Regions from separate parts of the Homo sapiens genome. Here region 2 is linked to region 1. The links are contacts of gene promoters, found by promoter capture Hi-C in blood cells and fetal thymus (Javierre and others, 2016). All regions are on one chromosome and are shown on one strand. Each heading gives the region's core, a stretch centred on a gene start or on the middle of the fragment in contact. The rest is flanking DNA. Distances are from core to core; before and after follow the strand shown. Region 1 holds the start of PDLIM2 (PDZ and LIM domain 2). Region 2 overlaps PPP3CC (protein phosphatase 3 catalytic subunit gamma).

The links. The method cuts DNA at HindIII sites, captures the fragments that hold promoters and counts their contacts. A CHiCAGO score of 5 or more calls a contact.
Region 2: a contact is called between a fragment that was not itself captured here and the fragment with the promoter of PDLIM2 in region 1, in 4 of 17 cell types (total CD8 T cells, naive CD4 T cells, naive CD8 T cells and 1 more). The highest score is 6.7, in total CD8 T cells.

What each region holds. Positions count from the first base shown.
Region 1 is chr8:22,579,225-22,583,371 of GRCh38, reverse strand. It overlaps PDLIM2 (PDZ and LIM domain 2), which reads right to left and starts at 2,897. Exons shown (of 9, transcript NM_001368120.1): 1 at 2,675-2,897; 2 at 1,842-1,993. The coding sequence starts at 2,767. RefSeq lists silencers at 1,002-1,296, 2,861-2,950, 3,681-3,840, 3,851-3,940, 4,041-4,110 and an enhancer at 971-1,663. The HindIII fragment of the contact is 20,077 bases long and covers 1-4,147 here.
Region 2 is chr8:22,466,645-22,470,791 of GRCh38, reverse strand. All of the region lies in intron 1 of PPP3CC (protein phosphatase 3 catalytic subunit gamma), which reads right to left. Among named protein-coding and RNA genes, the nearest start is that of PPP3CC, 28 kb to the right of the region's middle. The HindIII fragment of the contact is 1,292 bases long and covers 1,069-2,360 here.

The sequences.
Region 1 (4,147 bases), core at 1,648-4,147:
GCTGTGCACCCTGCCCACTGGAGGCCAGGGTGCCTTTGAGCGCGTCACTCCTGATCCCTTTCTCAGGGGTCTCCCCAGTTAAACAAAGGGCGAGACCCGCCTGCCTCCTTCCAGACAAGTAGGCCCAGCTCCCCACCAGCGAGAGGGGCACGCCCTCCCAGCTCCCTGGGTACCCTCTTCCAAAGTGGAACCCAGCTGGAGCCCTGAATGGGAGGTAACTGAAGTCTGGGCTGAGGGACAGCCTGCCTCGTCCCATCTTGCCACACATTCCTGGCCGTGAGGCTGCCTCTAGAGATGTAGGGCAACAGGACCCTCCGCTTCCTGGGAGAGCCATGGGATCAGGGTGAGGAGAGCTCAGTCTCTGGCTCCAGCCTGGAGCCCTGCTTCCTGCCCCAGGGCTTCTGAATACCAGAGAGGTCACCTGGGAGGGTAGGAGGCGGGAGATGGGGGCGGGGGGGGGGGTGGGCATCACGTCAGCAAAAGTAAGGAGACTGGGCCGGGCGCGGTGTAATACCTGTAATCCCAGCACTTTGGGAGGCTGAGGCAAGTGGATCACGAGGTCAGGAGATCGAGACCATCCTGGCCAACGTGGTGAAACCCCATCTCTACTAAAAATACAAAAATTAGCTGGGCGTGGTGGCACGCGCCTGTAGTCCCAGGTACTCAGGAGGCTGAGTCAGGAGACTCTCTTGAACCCGGGAGGCAGAGGTGGCAGTGAGCCGAGATCACGCTACTGCACTCCAGCCTGGCAACAGAGCGAGACTCTGTCTCAAAAAAAAAAAAAAAAAAAAAATTAAGAGACTGGAGTCTGGGCTTGCCTGGTGCAGAACCAGAGGCCTGACTTACAGCCCAGGCCTACCTCCCCCGAGCCCTGGTCCCTCCAGAGAACCCCAGAGGAAGAGACAGTCCGAGGCTCCTGCCCTTCCGCTGCCAGACCCTCAGCCTCCTGTAGCTTTCTGCCCCATTCCCAGATGCCATGAGGTGCTCTCTACCCTCCTTCTTGGGGTCCCGCTCCTGCAAACACCCAGGGACCTGAATGACATGAAGGGAGCCGGCTTCTGCCACACCACAGGGCAGGGCAGTTGGAGAAGGAGGGGCTTGGTAGGGCTGAAGAGAGCAGGACAATGTGGGGGTGGCCAGGATGCAAGAGGTGTCTGACTCAGGTTCTAGGCCCGTGCAGAGGGCTCTCCTGGCTCGGGGATCTCCTGGCATTCCCGATCTGTGACTCACTGCAATGCCCCACCCCAGGGAGCCACCTGTTCCCCCTATAGCTTGGCCTCCAGGCCCCACCCTGGCCCCACCTTGGCTTATAGGCTCAAAACCCTAGGAGTAACCCAGGATCGGGCATCTGCCTTCAGTGATGGGGAGGAACAGACAGCCTCTATGAGGAATGAGCCCCCCAAGTCCTCACTTCCAGCTGGGAACTAAACAAAGGCCATGCCCTGTTGGAAGCAGGAGTCCTGGGGATGCAGCCTCGGGCATACCTTTCCCAGAAGGTTCCCCTCTTCAACCCACTTCATGCCCACGCCCTGTGCCCTGCACACTCTTGGGAACCAGTCAAACCCGGGCTTCAAGGTGGCTGGTGCCAGCTCGCCCTGCCCAGCCTGTGACTGCACGCCCAGCCTGGCGCCCACCTTTACCCAACCAGGCATGGGAACACCCCTCAGCCCACCCTGCTGCAGGAAGCAGAGCCCAGGACCTTCTCACCAAGGTGTGGAGAGGGCCCAAGAAGGCCGCTTTAGGGCTGAGCTCTAGCCCATGGGCAGGAGCAAGGGCTGCTCAATACGTGGGGTGGTGGAGGAGGGGGAATGCCACAGGCTCTGCAGAGCGGGAGGCCCTACCGGTCCAGCTGCAGCCGCAGGGGCGAGGGGCTCTGGCGGATCTTGCTCTGGGCCTCGGCATGCAGCATGCCCTCCGCGCTTTCCCCGTTGATGGCCACGATTATGTCTCCAGGCCGGAGGTCAGCGTCCTTGGCTTTGCCCCGCTCGGCCACCTGTAGGGATGAGGAGCTGGCATGCTCAGACCGTGGCCCAGCTGGAGAAGGGACTTCCCACTCTGCTACCCAAGAAACACAGAGGCTGGCTTGACCCAGGCCGGCCTGCACCCTCCTGCATGTCCCTCTGCCTGCTCATGACACCCAGCTGATCAGCCATCCCCTCCAGGAGCGCAGGTGGCAGCCCCCACCCCACACTGGCATTCTAATGGGCCTCCCAAAGAATGTGCAGTGGCAGAATTTCAGGAACTGTGCTTGGAAATACTTTTGGATAGAGAGCCTTGCCCGTGCAAATCGCACCTTGCAGGTGGCTGCCTGCACAGCCCTCCTGTGAATGTTCCCAGCCTGGGCCCAGGTCAAGAGGAGACTGCCAAGAACTCCGGGGCTCTTGTTCTAGTAATCACCCCAAATGGCTGCCTGCAAGTGTGGGGATAGCAACTGGGGAGGCAAGAGCCGGCCCTGTCCTGGTCCCAGCTCCCTTTCACTCCCAAGGTCTGTTCCTGAAGTGGCCACCACATCCCCGTGGCAAAGGGCCACGGCTCCCTTACAGCCAGCACGCCAGGCAGCAGCAGATCCCTAGCTCCAGAACAGAAAAAGCAAGCCATCTGTGCAGAGTGGGGTGAACAGGGCCGACCTCGCTTCTGGCAGGACCTTCTCATCTCTTTGAGCCACCATCCTTACCTTAGTCACCATGATGGGCGTGTGGAAATCCCTGCCCCCTGTGATACGGAAGCCCCAGGGCGCTGGCCCGGCCACATCCACCGTCAACGCCATACCTGAGGAAGAGAGGACCAGGAGGTGAAGTCCATGCCCCTAGCCGGCTCTGGGGGCACTGTAAGGCAGCAGGAGAGGAGCCAAAGGGAGAAGGAGAGGGCACCACAGCTCCCGGAGCAGCTACTCAGGGGCTTTGGGGTGGGTAGAGGAAGTGGCTAACTCCCTCCCTCAGCCCGGTTTCACTTCCCCCCACCCTGGGAAGCCATGCTTCTGGGTTCTCCCTTCCTTAGTCTTCAGCCCAGGGAGCGACTCCCAGGAGGGGGCTGCCCAGGCTGCCAGGCAGGGGGCTTGCTGGAGCATGGGGGGCAGGGGCTGGCAAGTGGAGGGGATGCCAGCACCCCCTCAGTCTCCCCTCCTCCACCATCAGGGCTCAGTCCCACTAGCGCTTGCTTCCTGTCCCCAAAACCCACAGCACACGGTACTTCCTCTCCACTCTGGGGGAGGGCTGGTGAGTGGCCTAGGGAGAGCAGGGCTCAGGAAGCAGGAGTGACGGGTCAAGGAACAGGCTGGCACCAGTACAGACTGTGTAAGTCACTGGCCAGGTGAAGGACTGGTGGGGTGAGGCCGAGTCTTCACATGGGCCTCCTAGCTGCCCACCTCGTTCTTGGCAAAGTGGATCACACGGGCAAGACCGGGCTCCCCACCTCCCCCAGGGGCCGGCTGCCAGGGCAAGGAGGCCAGGGTTCATCTGTCAAGCTGGACACACCCACCCCCAGATTCCTGATGCTGCCCGACAGACAGCCGGGGTGACAGGCCTCCCATCCACAGCCCCTCCGCTGGGCAAGGAAGTGCCCTTGCAGACAGACCCCTGTGGGATTTCCTGAGCCTCTAGCTCTGGAGCCAGGAGCCAATCCAGGCAGGAAGCCGCGGTGCCAGGCTGGGCACCACCCTGCCCAGCACCCATCCTGGGGCTGCCCTGGGGACGCAAGTGCTGCGAGAATCTATCAAGAGCACCAGCGGTCTGTCCGCTCCATCCCCGGCTGCCTTCCCCTTGGGCCCAGGCCTAGCCTCTGTTCCCAGCACCGCCCCCACCCCAGTCCCCGAGGCCGGCTCGCGGCCGCCCCGAGATTCCCAGACCTTTGAGCCGGTCAGTGGACTCCGCGCTGCGGGCGCCGCGGGGAGGTGCCCAGCCCGATGGCCCGGCTCTACCAGTTCTGGAGCCTCCTTCGCTCCGAGGGCAAAGTACCCTGCGGGCTGGGGGCTGGAGGAGGAGCGCTCCGGCCGGGGAGAGCGCAGCTCGCGGGGGCGCCCCCGCTGATGCGAGGCTCCAGGGAGCTGGGCCGCGGACGAGGCCAGGGTTCCGCGCCGACAGGGGCGCGGAGAGGAGCCCGGCGCCGGGGAGGGCGGGCCGCGCGGAGAGGCGCAGGTGGGCGCGCTCAC
Region 2 (4,147 bases), core at 465-2,964, 110 kb after region 1:
CCAGTTACTTCATATCCTTGTCAACACTCAATATTGCTCATCTGCTAAATTTTATTCCAGTACAGTGAACGTCTACCGGTATCTCTTTGTTCTCTACTTTGCATTTCCCTGATGAGTAGTGATGTTGAGGACCTTTCTACTTGCTTAAGGGCCATTTGAATATCTTCTTTGGGGATGTGCTTGTTCAATTCTTTTGTCCATTTAAAACATTTAGTATCTTTTCTTATTGACTGACGAAAGTTCTTGTATGTTCTGGGTACATGTCCTTTATCAGATGTAAAGCCTTTTTTGTTCTTAATGATCTTTATTTATGTAAATATATAATTCAATTAGGTTTATCATTATGACATAATTGACTATATACCAATTCTTTAAACTTTGTTTTTGAATATAGAAAATGTAGAAATTTTACTTAGGAAAATAGTGTGCTTATGATAATTTATTTAAACATTTTCTTATTGTTGGATAGCTAGACTATTTCAAAAAATTGTAAATTATACTGCAGGGCCAGGCATCGTGGCTCACACCTATAATCCCAGTGCTTTGGGAGGCTATGGCAGGAGGAACGCTTGAGCCCAGGAGTTCAAGGCTGCAGTGACCTATGACTGAGCCACTGTACTCTAGCCTGGGTGACAGAGTGAGATTCTGCCTCTAAAAAAAAGAAAACATAAATAAATGATACAGCAGAGAACATATATATATGTATGTGTGTGTGTGTGTGTGTGTGTGTGTATATATATATATCACCCATATTTATTTTATATATATCACCCATATCATATATATATACATGGATCATTTATATATCACATATATATATATATATATGTCTTTGAGCAAATCTTTATTTCCCTATAAGTTTCTAGAAATTATATGAATTATCTACTGCCATGTAACAAATTACCCCAAAACTTAGTGGCTTAAGGCAATAATCACTTATTATCTATCACAGGTTCTGTGGACCATAAATTCAGACAGGGCACAGTGGGGCTGGCTTGTCTCTGCTCCGCAACTTCTGGGGCCTCAGCAGGATACTCGACAACCTGGGGCTGGAATTACCTGAAAGCTTTCTCACTCATACTGTGGTTAATACTGGCTGTTGGCTGCAGCTTAGCTCAGGTTTTTGAAGAGAATACCCACATGTGGCCTCTTCGTATGACTTAGTTCCAACAACAAGCATCCCAAGACAAAGAGAGAGCCAGGAAGAAGCTGTAGCTTTTTTTTTTCCCTCTTTTTATTTGTGCAAATTTACAGATTACATGAGGAATTATGTTACATGTATATTATGCATAGTATTAAGCCAGGGTCTTCAGGATGTTCATCACCAGGTACAATACATTTTTGTTAGGTATAGTCATCCTGCTCTGCTATCAAACATTGAATCTACTCCTATCTTAATGTATGTTTGTACCCTTTAACTCACTTCTCTTCATCCTTCCCCTTTCCCCCACTCACCCTTCCCAGTCTCTCTTATCTATTTTCCATTCTCTACCTCCATGTGTTCAAATTTTTAGCTCCCACATATAAGTGAGAATATATGATATTTGTCTTTTTGTGCCTAGCTTATTTAACTTAAGATAATGACCTTCAGTTCCATCCATGTTGCTGTAAGTGACATTATTTTGTTTTGTTTTTTTATGGTTGAACAATATTCCATTGTGTATATATACCATATTTTCTTTATCCATTCATCCACTAATAGATACTCAACGCTGATTCTGTATCTTTGCTGTTGTGAATAGTACTGCAATAAACATGTTGATTTATTTTCCTTTGGGTAGATACTCAGTAGTGCGATTGCTGGATCAGTTGTATCCTATTTATATCATGGCCTCAGAAATCCCATCACATTATTTCCACCATATTCAATTGGTTGAACAGTCACAAGCCTGCCCAGGTTCAAGAAGAGTGGAAATAGATTCCACCTACTGGTGGGGAGTGACAAAATTCTGTGCGAGCATATGAGACTAAAAATATTGCTATGGCAGTTTCTTGAAAATAGATTGTCATACTTTCTCTATTTAAAAGGAAAAATGGCCCGTCACCAATGCCTCCAACAGTACCTTTAAATCAGAGTCCATTTTAAATGGGCCACTTTGTATTTTCCAAGTTATTACCAAATGAGAAAATCTATTCAATTATTACAAGCAAAACATTACAAAAGATATATTCCCAATGTTTCAAAATAATTTGAGATGCCTATTAGAAGCTGTATAAATATTTTCTCTAATTTGCCAGCTGATTAAAAAAAAAACTCATGAATCTTCTTTCCTAAATGAAAGGGATAAATATGTAAAAATAAACTATTTATGAAAAGCAGACATTTTTAAAATGCTTGATTCAAAATATTATGTCAAGCTTCCAGTTTAGAATGACTAGCAACTTCTGGCCAGGTGCAGTGGCTCACGCCTGTAATCACAGCACTTCGGGAGGCCAAGGTAGGCAGATCACCTGAGGTCAGGAGTTTGAGATCAGCCTGGCCAACATGGTGACACTCTTGCCTCTACCAAAAATACAAAAGTTAGCTGGGCGTGGTAGCGGGCGCCTGTAATCCCAGCTACTCGGGAGGCTGAGACAGGGTAGTCACTTGAACCCGGGAGGCAGAGGTTGCAGTGAGCCGAGATTGCACCACTGCACTCCAGCCTGGGCGACAGAGCAAGACTCTGCCTCAAAAAAACAAAAAAAAGAATGACTAGAAACTTCTGATTCAACATTTCTTAACAGCTGCTATGATTTGAATGTTCCAAAAATTCATAGGTAAAACCTAATCCCCAACATGGTGGTATTAAGACGTGGAATATCTGGGAAATTATTAGGTCGTAAGGACTCTGCCCTCATGAATGGCATTTGTGCCATTACAAAAGAGGTCCAAAGGAGCTTGTTTGTCCCTTCTGCCACGTGAGGACACATAGAAGGTGCCACTTATAAGGAAGAGGCCCTCACCAGACACACAATCTGCTGGCAAGCTGACTCTTGGACTTCCCAGCCTCTAGGACTGTAAGAAATAAATTTCTGTTGTTCACAAATTACCCAGTCTAAGGCATTTTGTTATAACATCTTGAACAGGCCGGGGGCGGTGGCTCACACCTGTAATCCCAGAACATTGGGAGGCGGAGGCAGGTGGATCATAAGGTCGAGTTCAAAACCAGCCTGACCAACATGGTGAAACCCTATCTCTACTAAAAATAAAAAATTAGCCGGGTGTGGTGGCGCGTGCTTGCCTCAGGAGGCTGAAGCAGGAGAATCACTTGAACCCAGGAAGTGGAGGTTGCAGTGAGCTGAGATCGCACCACTGAAACTCCAACCTGGGCGACAGAGCAATGCTCTGTCTCAAAACAAACAAACAAACAAAAAACACATCTTGAATAGACTAAGCGAACATCTAACTAAAATACACATAAAAATAAGACAGAACAAAATGAAAACTCTCACCATAAAAACTATGATCGAAAAGTATCCTCAATTAATTCATTCAAATAATTTTATTGAATTGCTACTATGTGTTAGGTACTTATACGCACTAGTAAAAATTTTGATGGCAAATATCTCAATGCATAAGTACATAAATAAATACCTTAAAATACCATAAATTTTTTTTTATTTTCTCCTAGGTAGATATAATTTACTTAGATCATAATTTATTAACATTTAGCCAATCTGCAATTTTTAGAAATCTCAGTTATTGTTAAATATTTTGCCCTTACAATGTCTGTAGCACATTTTATTTTCCAAAACTGGCTGCAACCAGCCAGGCATGGTGACTCACTCCTGTAATCCCAGCACTTTGGGAATCCAAGTTGGGGAGACTGCTTGAAGCCAAGAGTTCGAAACCAGCCTGGGCAGCATGGTGAGACCCCCATCTCTACAAAATTTTTTTTTTAAATTATCCAGGTGTGGTGGCATCTGCCTGTACTCCCAGCTACTCAGGAGGCTGACACAGAAGGATCTCTGGAACCCAATAGGTTGAGGCTGCAGTCAGCTACAGTCGTCAGCCTGGACAACAGAGTGAGACTCCATCTCAAAAAGCAAAAACAGAAAAAATTTTTGCAATCTACCCATCTGACAAAGGGCTAATATCCAGAATCTACAAAGAACTTAAACAAATTTACAAGAAAAAAACAACCCCATCAGAAAGTGGGCAAAGGAT